Linked DNA regions of Homo sapiens: regions 2, 3 and 4 are each linked to region 1. Evidence: promoter capture Hi-C in human tissues and cell types (Jung and others, 2019). All regions are on one chromosome and are shown on one strand. Each heading gives the region's core, a stretch centred on a gene start or on the middle of the fragment in contact. The rest is flanking DNA. Distances are from core to core; before and after follow the strand shown. Region 1 holds the start of UBE2G1 (ubiquitin conjugating enzyme E2 G1). Region 2 overlaps ANKFY1 (ankyrin repeat and FYVE domain containing 1). Region 3 overlaps ANKFY1 (ankyrin repeat and FYVE domain containing 1). Region 4 holds the start of SPNS2 (SPNS lysolipid transporter 2, sphingosine-1-phosphate).

What was found. Contacts are between HindIII fragments. The study calls those that stand out against the background at their distance.
Region 2: a fragment that was not itself captured here is called in contact with the fragment with the promoter of UBE2G1 in region 1 in 1 of the 25 tissues and cell types used here (dorsolateral prefrontal cortex).
Region 3: a contact is called between a fragment that was not itself captured here and the fragment with the promoter of UBE2G1 in region 1, in 1 of the 25 tissues and cell types used here (H1 embryonic stem cells).
Region 4: a contact is called between the fragment with the promoter of SPNS2 here and the fragment with the promoter of UBE2G1 in region 1, in 1 of the 25 tissues and cell types used here (psoas muscle).

What each region holds. Positions count from the first base shown.
Region 1 is chr17:4,365,361-4,368,002 of GRCh38, forward strand. It overlaps UBE2G1 (ubiquitin conjugating enzyme E2 G1), which reads right to left and starts at 1,315. Exons shown (of 6, transcript NM_003342.5): 1 at 911-1,315. The coding sequence starts at 956. RefSeq lists silencers at 1-735, 786-1,485 and enhancers at 648-1,334, 1,154-1,448. The HindIII fragment of the contact is 21,131 bases long and covers 1-2,642 here.
Region 2 is chr17:4,210,109-4,212,750 of GRCh38, forward strand. The region is part of intron 4 of ANKFY1 (ankyrin repeat and FYVE domain containing 1); the gene reads right to left. Among named protein-coding and RNA genes, the nearest start is that of ANKFY1, 53 kb to the right of the region's middle. The HindIII fragment of the contact is 4,377 bases long and covers 1-2,642 here.
Region 3 is chr17:4,228,767-4,231,408 of GRCh38, forward strand. The region is part of intron 3 of ANKFY1 (ankyrin repeat and FYVE domain containing 1); the gene reads right to left. Among named protein-coding and RNA genes, the nearest start is that of ANKFY1, 34 kb to the right of the region's middle. The HindIII fragment of the contact is 6,569 bases long and covers 1-2,642 here.
Region 4 is chr17:4,497,631-4,500,272 of GRCh38, forward strand. SPNS2 (SPNS lysolipid transporter 2, sphingosine-1-phosphate) reads left to right here and starts at 1,251. Exons shown (of 13, transcript NM_001124758.3): 1 at 1,251-1,787. The coding sequence starts at 1,418. It overlaps SPNS2-AS1 (SPNS2 antisense RNA 1), which reads right to left and starts at 1,105. Exons shown (of 3, transcript XR_001752763.2): 1 at 521-1,105; 2 at 1-85. RefSeq lists silencers at 1,044-1,103, 1,114-1,263, 1,324-1,373 and enhancers at 1,415-2,050, 2,051-2,642. The HindIII fragment of the contact is 11,191 bases long and covers 229-2,642 here.

The sequences.
Region 1 (2,642 bases), core at 65-2,564:
CGCGCACACAGTCCTAGCAGAGTAGGAGCCAACCCCCTAAAAAGTCAACCTGGAAGCCGCAAACGGCCGGAGGCCGGGACAATGGGGGAGGGGGGCCGCAGGCTCCTCGGGGAGGCCGACCCGGCCGCCGCCCCGGGCCAGAGCCTGCGGGCGCAGCTCCGGGGTTTGCAGGCCTGCGCAGCAGCCGGAATCGCGGCGAGCACAAAGCCCGGAGCCGGCCAGCGAGCGGCTCTCCCCGCGGCCCGCTCCTACCCTCCCCCAGCCGGGCGGCGCAGCCGGAGCCCGTGCCAGGCGGAGGCAGGCGAGGCGGCGATCCGCACTCCGCCAGGGTCTCCGGCACCCTCGCGCCCGCGTGGAGGCCGCCGAGGCCAGCGCTTTTGTTGTCGGCCCCAACTCCGCGGACCCAGCGCCGCCCGGGGAGAAGTTTTGTGCGCCTCACCTATCCCGCCAGGGCCGGTCCCTTCCGCCCGCCCTCAGACACCGAGCCGGGGACTCGCAGCCGCACTGGGTCCGGACGCTCCAGCCGGCCCCGAAGGTCCGGCGGCCCCGGCAGCACCTGAACCCGGGACCCGCCCCTCCAAGCTGGCGGCCCCGGCCTGGGGACCCGCACACAGCCCCTCCCCCGCAACGTCCTACAGAACGGTGGGGGAGGGGACCTCCTCCTCTCCGACCCCCCGGGCGCCAGGCCCAGTCCCTGGGCCGGAGCTGGGTCGCGTCCCCGCCCCCAGTGCCCTCCAAGAGCCGGGCGAGAACGGCTGGGCCCGGCCGGGACCGGAGCCTCGAGGTCCCCACCCTCGCAGGCCCGGGCCCCTTCGGCAGTACGGCCGCTGGCCCGGGAGGAGAAGAGGGACTGGGCTGCGGCTGTCCGCGATCGCGGCCGGGCCCGGCGCCCCGCCGCCCGCCTGCTCACCTGCCAGCTGTCTTCGCAGTAGCAGTGCCGACTGCAGCTCCGTCATCCTCCCTGCCGAGGGCCCGGGCTGGCGCCGGGGCTTCCGAAGGGCTGGGGACAGGCTCTGGGGGCGGCTGGAGCGGGGTGTGCCGAGGAACCCGGGCCCCGCGACCGGAGCGCCGGAGCCGAGGAAGGCCGGGCTGAGGCGGCGGGAGCGGCGCCTCGCTGCCGGTGCGAGTCCGCTCGCTTCAGCTCTTTTCACAGCGACTCACGCCCGGAAGGGGAGGGTGCCCGGGCTGCCGCGGCGCGCACTGGGACTTCGCTCGCCCGCTTCCCTCCTTCAACCCGCCCGTCGGCCCCACCGGTGCCTTCCCCCGCCACTGCCTCACTGCGCGCAGGGCCGCTCGGCGCAGGCGCGCTGAGACTGCCGACTTGGGAAGCGTCCCGCCCGCTAGCCCGACCCCTCGGCCTCCCGCCCCGCCCCCGGCGGCGGAACCCCGCCCCTTGAGCGCAGTTGTCCCGTCCGCCGCCATTTTGGGAAGGTCGACGCCCGGCTGCCAGCCCAAGCCTCCGCTGGTAGACGCCCCGCGGACGCCATGACAAAGAGGTCGCAGAGGGTCAAATACAGCCTCTGGATTGAAGCAGTGGATATAGGAGCGAAGAGGCCAGAAGAAGTGGTAGATGTCTAGTCCTTGGCGAGCGCCCAAAAGCCATCTAACACTGCCACATGGTGTGCGAAGTAGGAATTGTTAGAAAGCCGAAGTTAGTACTGGTGTGCCCCATTTTAACCAAACATCAAAATAGAGGCAATATATGATGATAACTCACTTTACATGAAGAGTGCACAAAAAAAGCCACCGCGTCCGGCCCTATTATTATTGAGCCACCGAGACCGGCCCTGTTATTATTATCATTTATGGACGGCAATTCTCTCTGTCGCCCAGGCTGGAGTGCAGTGATCATAGCTCACTGCAGCTTGGAACTCCTGGGCTTAAGGGATCCTCCCATCTGAGTCTCCTTAGTATCTGGGATTACAGGTACACACCACCATGCCCTGCTATTTTTTTATTTGCTTTATAGAGATCGGGGGGTTTGACGGGGCGCGGTGGCTCATGCTTGTAATCCCAGCACTTTGAGAGGCCGAGGTGGGCAGATCACCTGAGGTCACGAGTTCGAGACCATCCTGGCCAACATGGTGAAACCTGGTCTCTACTAAAAATACAAAAATTAGCCCAGCCTGGTGGCAGGCGCCTGTACTCCCAGCTACCAGGGAGGCTGAGAAAGGAGAATTGCTTGAACCTAGGAGGCAGAGATTGCAGTGAGCCGAGATGGTGCCACTGCACTCCAGCATGGCCGACAGAGAGAGACTCCGTCTCACAAAAAAAAAAAAAAAGGAGGGGGGGGCCAGAGGTCTCTCTGTGTTGCCCAGGCTGGTCTCAAACTCCTGGGTTCAAGCAGTCCTTCCAACTCGGCCTCCCAAAGTGTTAGCATTACAAGTGTGAACCACTGCCCCCTATCAAATAGACCAAAGGGACCATTTTGATATTTCACTTTACCAAATCAAGGAAATTTACTTCTATTCCTAGTTTCTTTCTTTTTTATTTTATTTATTTATTTATTTATTTTTTGAGACAGCCTTGTTCTGTCGCCCAGGCTGGAGTGCAGTGGCGTGATCTTGGCCCACTGCAACCTCTGCCTCTCAGGTTCCCGAGTTAAAGCAATTCTCCTGCCTCAGACTCCTGAGTAGCTGGGA
Region 2 (2,642 bases), core at 64-2,563, 160 kb before region 1:
ATTTAAAAAGTACTAGAATTTCATTATAATATTTCATTGCTCCATTCTGGTCAGAATCAAAATAACATGCAAATAAACTGATTAAGCATAATACCCCAACTGCCTTAACAGCACACATACGACACCCGCTGATCACACAGACAGGTAATTGTCGAATCAAGCACAAAATGGATCAACCTCTGTCCTTCAAAGAAAATTTAACTGTGTGGAACACCACTTTAGTTCCCACAACTGCATGATGCAAACAGTGTGTCTTAGAAATAGTTTCAAATACGAGGCTCTATGCTCAATAATTAACACCTCCTTAAAAGCTCTCCCGGCTGGGTGCAGTGGCTCACGCCTGTAATCCCAGCGCTTTGGGAGGCCGAGGTGGGTGGATCACCTGAGGTCGGGAGTTCGAGACCAGCCTGACCAACATGGAGGAACCCCATCTCTACTAAAAATACAAAATTAGCCGGCTGTGGTGGCGCATGCCTGTAATCCAAGCTACTCGGGAGGCTGAGGCAGGAGAATCGCTTGAACCCAGGAGGCGGAGGTTGCAGTGAGCTGAGATCGTGCCATTGCACTCCGGCCTGGGCGACAAAGGCAAAACTCTGTCGCAAAAAAAAAAAAAAAAAAAAAAAAGCTCTCCTATAAGATGAATGTGTATGATATGTGAATTATAACTCAATAAAGCTGTATTTTAAAAGCCCCACCTAGGATCTACTGAGGTCAGGAGCTCGAGACCAGCCTTACCAACAAGGTGAAACCCTGTCTCTACTAAAAATACAAAAATTAGCCGGGCATGGTGGCAGGCGCCTGTAGTCCCAGCTACTCAGGAGGCTGAGACAGGAGAATTGCTTGAACCCAGGAGGCGGAGATTGCAGTGAGCCGAGATTACGCCACTGCACTCCAGCCTGGGCAGCGGAGTGAGACTCCATCAACAACAACAACAAAAAAAATAAAAAGAAAAAAAGAAAAAAGAAAAAACTCACCTAAAATATCTATAATGTTTTGAAAAAAACAGCCAAATCAGCCAGGTGTGGTGGCTCACACCTATAATCCTAGCTCTTTCAGAAGCCAAGGCGGGCAGATTGCCTGAGCTCAGGAGGTCGTGACCAGCCTGGGCAACATAGCGAAACCCCGTCTTTACTACAAATACAAAAACAAATTAGCTGGGCTGCCTGTAGTCCCAGATACTGGGGAGGCTGAGGCACAAGAATCACGTGAACCCGGGAGGCAGAGGTTGCAGTGAGCTGAGACGGTGCCACTGCACTCAAGCCTGGGTGACAGAGCAAGACTCGTCTCAAAAAAAAAAAAAAATTAGAAAAAATAGCCAAATCATAGTACACCCCCCACACCAAAAAAATCAGATTTCTACTGTAACAACAAAACCACAGTACACCAAAATAGAGAAAAACTGGCTACAATGGATGTCCTCATAAAGCCGCATAATAATAAAAACAAGACTCTTTCAGAATCATTAATAAGGAAACACGGCCAGGTGCAAAGGCTCACACCTGTAATCCCAGCACTCTGGGAGGCCAAGGCAGGAGGAGTACTTGTGGCCACGAGTTCAAGACCAGCCTGGGCAACACAGCAAGACCCTGTCTCTACCAAAACAATTGAGAAATTAGGCAGGCATGGTAGCATGTGCCTGTAGTCCCAGCTACTCAGGAGGCTGAAGTAAGAGCCCAGGAGTTCAAGGCTGCGGTAAGAGCCCAGGAGTTCAAGGCTGCGGTGAACCGTGATCGCACCACTGTACGCCTGCCTAGATGACAGACAGAGACTCTGTCTCAAAAAAAAAACAAAACAAAAACAAACAAACAAACAAACAAAAAACATCAACTACATCAGAGAAGAGAGAGCTGAAGGCAGGCAAATAGGTCTCTGGTAGCAAAAGCAGGACCACATTGTAGTCTGGAAGATATGGCATTGGAAAGACCACACTTCCTCTATGCCAGAATTCCTGGAAGCCTTAGGGAGTCTCCCATGAGACCAGGCCCATGGGGAAAAGGTGGCCAGGGAACAGCCCTTCACCTCCCTCGCCTCCACTGCTCCCTCCAAATCAGGTTCACCTCCAAGGGCAGTCACAGACGACTAGTATGGTTTCACGAGATTTCCTGACATCCACCATTGTTTTCCCTGCCAGCAGCCTCCACCAAAACTCTTTTCTAACCACAAAGGCAGAATGTGGTGGACAGAGCAAGATAAACAATGAGGTAAAAAAGACCTGAGTGGAGACCCATTACATTTTAGGGGCCAAATTACTTGAGCTCTCTGTGCCCCTCTCTCCTCCTCTATAAAATAAAGATGTTACTCTACTTCAGATATTTGAGGAATACTTGTGTGTTTGTCAAGATGGAGGAGAACTAGTTACACTCAGCACAGCTTGAGGTATGTAGTAAATATGCTCGGAAGTTTGAGGTCCCTCTACTAGCCGTTCTCGTCTCTAAAACCTGAAATTCCTTTACTAAGGAAAAATCACAAAAGGAAATCACTTAATTTTAATAATCCACATTAGTGGATTTCAGTACTGTTAACCATAACTAGCTAGCAGATAATTCCCAATCTTAACAGATGGGCTTTAGGTAACAGACGTAGAAAAAGACCATGGGAATGGGTGATGGCAGAAGAAAGAAGGAAGGTCATGAGAAAGACCT
Region 3 (2,642 bases), core at 41-2,540, 140 kb before region 1:
GTATGTCAAAACTTATCCAATTGCACACTTTTAATGTGGGCAGTTTACTGTACTTCCATTACACCTCAATTTGGAGGAAAAAGAAACCAAACTGACAGGCAGCACGGCACTGTGGTTAATGGCACGAATTCTGCAGCCAAACTACCTAGGGTTCAAATCCCGGCTCCAATCCTTGCTAACTGTGTGGAGTTAATACATAATAAAGCACTCAAAACACCACCACCACATAGTAACTGCTATGTAAAAACTTGCTATTATTACAATAGACTATTTAGAAATTGATCACAATGAAAACAGTACCTACCAAAATATTTGCAATGTAGTCAGATTCATACTATAAAAAAAAGTCATAGTCTTAACCTTATTAGAAAATGAGGCCAGGCATGGTGGCTCACACCTGTGATCCCAGCACTTTGGGGGGCCGCAGTGGGTGGATCACCTGAGGTCAGGAGTTCAAGACCGGCATGGCCAACGTGGCAAAACCCCATCTCTACTAAAAATACAAAAATTAGCCAGGCGTGGTGGCGGGCACCTGTAATCCCAGCTACTCAGGAGGCTGAAGCAGGAGAATCACTTGAGCCCAGGAGGTGGAGGTTGCAGTGAGCTGAGATCACACCACTGCACTCCAGCCTGGGTGACAGAGTGAGGCTCTGTCTCAAAAAAAAAAAAGAAAATGAGATAAAAGATAGTAATTCAACTCAAAAAGAAAAAATAATTCAAAGGAATTTCAAAGAAAGATTTAATACAGATAAAAAGAAATTATTGAATTGGCTAAATATAAATAAAAATTAAAAGAACAATGAACCTAAACCAAATCTGCAATAAGCCAACACAAACACAAACTTAACATAACCAAAGATTGGTGAGAAAAACCCAAAAGCAGTATGAGGATTAAGTAAAGAATATAACCGCAGATAAAATAGATTATTTTGAGCTCTGAGAGAATCTTTGGGCATGGGACTCAGCTGCTGGCAGGAGGCCACAAGGCTGTTTGAGTGTCCTCATGACATGGCCGCTAACGTTCCCCCAAAATGAGCAATCCAAAAGAGAGAGCTAGGAAGAAGCCACAGTGCCTTCGATGAAGCCATCTCTCAAGTCACATGCTGCCACTTCTACCACACTCCATTCATTAGAGGTGAATCAGCCTATACTGAAGAGGAGAATTTGAATCCACCTTTGCAGGGAGAAATAGCAAAGAATTTGTGAGCATATTCTTTTTTACTCCTTTTTGTGAGCATATTCTAAACTTCCCGTGGATGTCATCGAAGGAACACAGTATGATTTAATACTGAAACTGAACAGCCTTAACCTAGTAGTTCACACAGTAGCCAACAGATGTTGAATATTGCTGTGCTTCTCTTAAAAATTTAAATAGCACACAGCTCCCCGAGTACACAGTTTGGGAAACTATGCCCTTTCCACTGCAGAGTGCAAGCTTTCCAGATGGTGCTTCAGGGGATAGCTTTCCCAACCAGAGTGAAAAGGAATAAAGGAGGATGTTTTCTGCTGTTTGGAATGGCTTGACACTATCCAGGACACATTCCAGGAGAGCTGAATGACTCATACCCTGAGCCCTTATGCCAAGGAACTGTAAGATCTTTGCTTGAGAAAGTATGCAACAAACTCTAGCTTCAAAACAGCCATTCTAATCCATTGGAACCTCTCATCGTGTCAGCTGCTACTGGTAAAGTGCTACAGAGAGGCCATAAACAGATCATTTTGCTAGAAGCAAATTGCTTTACTTCACCAAGAAGTAAATATAATACTTTCCTTGTGGACTCAGATTTGTTATGCTTTGCTGAGCTAACAGTCATATTCTTTCTCTTCCCACTTGGTCAATCAGTATCTTTATAAACTTTTATCTTTTATTCTTTTTTATTAGGGTTTAACAGACAAAAATTATATAGAGTTAATGTATGACATGTTTTGATATATGTATGCACTATGAAATGGTTATAAGCTAATTAACATATCACTTCATATATTTAAAGATACCTTAGTAAGAAATAAAAAAGCAAATTTCTACTTTGTTTACATTTTCAGATACTTTCATACTTTGAGAAAAGCTGCAGAGCATCCCCATATGCCCTTTACTCATCTTCCCCTATTATTAATACAGCTTATATAACCATAGTACAATGATCAAAATTAGGTAACTACGTAATACATACAATACCAATACCATTAACTAATTATAGGCCCTATTTTGCCAATTTTACCAGTAATACCCTTTTTATGGCCAGAATCCAACTGAGGATTCTACACTGCATTCAGTGTTAGTCTCACCCAATCTGTAATACTTCCTAAACCATTCTTGTTTTTCATAACCTTGACATGTTTGAGAAACACTCTGGCTGATTATTTTGAGAAATGTCCCTCAATTTGGGTCTGATGTTTTCTCATGAGTAGATTGAGGTTATGCATTAATGGCAAAAATCCTATACAAGAGCCAGGCAGAGTGGCTCATGCCTGAAATTCCAACACTTTGGGTAGCCAAGGCAGGAGGATCATCTGAGCCCAGGAGTTTGAGACCAGCCTTGGCAACACAGCAAGAGCCCATCTCTATTAAACAATTAGCCAGGGATGGTGGTGAACACCTGTACTCCCAGCTACTTGAGAGGCTGAGGTGGGAGGATCTCTTG
Region 4 (2,642 bases), core at 1-2,500, 130 kb after region 1:
TGATGCCAGAGCCTGGGGCAGCTCCAGCCCTGCCACAGCTTCACTGCCTGTTCGTAATGGGTCACGTCCGTGCCCTGGGACTTGTCTGTGAAACACAGGGAATGATTAACTGGTTTCCGAGGGTTTGTCCAGTTCTAACATTCTGTCCTCTGCACTTTATACAGGATTTTAATTTCGATTTTAATTCCCCAAACAGGTGAATGGGGGAGGGAAGGGGGAGATCGTCACAGAGCCACAGCACCTCTAAGGAGGGGTGAAACCGTGATGGGATGTCAGGAACACAGAAGCACCCCAACCACTCTCCATAGGAGGCAGACCCCCGCCCCGTCCCACCAAGGGGAGGTGACCACCCGTGGATTTCCAGACTGAATCCCATCCTGCCATCTGCCCCCAGATACAGAAATGGAGGCCCAGAGAGTGGGTGTCATGTTCAGGATCATGCCACACACCAGGGCAGAGCTGAGCTAGGACCCAGCCTCCTGTCTGCCACTGGGGGCTTTGTACCCTCTCTAGCACATACCTGGAAGTCTGAAGCTTGGAGATGTGGTCCCTCAGGAGGGAAAGCCCCTTCTGAATATCCTGTTTCTGTTGGGCCCCAATCACAGCCCTTGCTCTCCCCGCCAGGGGCTGCGGGCCACTCTGTGGGGCAAGGGTAGGGTCCGGGTGCCCACACAGGAATGGGCCCGGGGTAGGTTGGGGGCTGGATCTGGGTTGCCCTGGGGAGGTGGGAGACACAGCCCACCATGACTGGTGGAGGTCTAGGTTCTGGGCCCTCCCTGAACTGGTTAAATCCGGGCGTGTGAGTATCGGAGGAGCCACCGGCTCTCCAACTGGCGCCCCTGACTTTAGCCATCTGAGACTCCTCTCTCCAGTTCTCCCAGATACGCTAGGCTCAAGCCCTCAGCCCGGCTCCCAGAGCCTCCGCCGGGAGTCCACGCCCGAGGCAGGGGTTGGGTGAAGGGTACTGAGTAGGTGCTGGGAGCCCCGTCACCAGCACCCTGCTCCCAGCTCCGTAGCCAGAGCAAACCCTCTCCCGCTCCCCGCGGGCGTTCGCGGCCGGTCGGCCCCGGCGTGACTGCGCCCCCATTGGCAGGAGGGGCTCTGCCGCCCGGGCCCCCAGTCCCCGGGCCCCCCACCCCCAGGGCAGCACGTGCGGGGCGGGGCTGTGGCCCGAGCCCGGAGCTGATTGGGCGCGGGCCTGGTGGGCGGGGCCGGGCCGCAGCTGTCAGAGCCGCGGCGGCGAACGAGGCGCAGCGAGCTGAGCGGTGGCAGCGCCGCAGCCGGGGCCGGAGCGCAGGAGCCGACGGGGCCCGACCAGGATGGTGCAGTGGCGGCTCCGCGGCGCACGCACGCGCTGAGCGGGCCCAGCCTGGGCCCCGCGCCCCCCGCGCCCCCCGCCGCCCCGATCCGGGCCGGCATGATGTGCCTGGAATGCGCCTCGGCGGCGGCGGGCGGCGCGGAGGAGGAGGAGGCGGACGCGGAGCGGCGGCGCCGGCGCCGGGGGGCGCAGCGAGGGGCTGGCGGTAGCGGTTGCTGCGGGGCGCGGGGCGCGGGCGGCGCTGGAGTCTCGGCCGCGGGCGATGAGGTGCAGACGCTGTCGGGCAGCGTAAGGCGGGCCCCGACCGGACCCCCCGGCACCCCCGGCACCCCCGGCTGCGCAGCTACTGCAAAGGGCCCCGGCGCTCAGCAGCCCAAACCGGCCAGCTTGGGCCGCGGGCGGGGGGCAGCCGCCGCCATCCTCAGCTTGGGCAACGTGCTCAACTACCTGGACAGGTACACCGTGGCAGGTGAGCGAGTGCCCCACCCAGCCCGAGGACCAAGACCCCACCCCATCCCACCACCCGCCTCGAGGGAGGTACCCCAGAGAGCTTTTGGTCTCAGGCCTGCTATCTCCAGGCCCTACGTGAGGTCCCTACGGACCCTCTGCTCAGGCACAACTGGGCAAGGGATGCCTCCGTGCACCACGGGTACAATCCAGCTCCCCGCTCATACACACCCGGGGCCAAGGGATAGAGGAGTCCCCACCCCTGGAGCAGCCCGCGCGTCCTCTCCAGCCCTTGACGGCCCATCCGTTGTCCTCCTCTCCAAGAGTCTCCTCTGCGTCTCTCTGTCTCCTTGTCTCTGCGCCCCCTCCGACCCCAGCTGCCGGTTCCCGGGCCTCCTTCCCTTCCCTTCCCCCAGCCCAGGTCGTCTGTCCGTCCATGGCCCGTCAGTTCCTTCCTTTCTCCGCCGCCTCCACCCCCCTGCGTGCGTGCGGCGAGTGCGCGCGCCCCTTGCGGGTGTGCGCTAGGGAGACCGGGTGTGTGTGCGCGTGGCGGCGCGGTTGTGTGTGAGCGCGTGGCTGACAAAGGCTCCGGGCTGCGGGGAGCGGAGGGAGGGGCGGGGCGGGTCCGCGGCGCCTGGGGACCCAGGCTGCGGTTTGCAGCTGGCCCTGTACAGAGGCCTGGAGACGCCTCCCCCTGCTCTATGGTGCTTGGGGTGTAGGGTAGGGCGCAGGCCTCTGGAGCTAGAGACGTGGAGCCTCATCCTCAGGGAGCATCTCTGGGAATCAGCCTTGGGGACGGGATTGGGATCGATAGAACAACTGGGTTCTAGCCCCAGCTTTGCTCCTAATGTGCTTGGTGTGTGACCTTGGGCCAGTC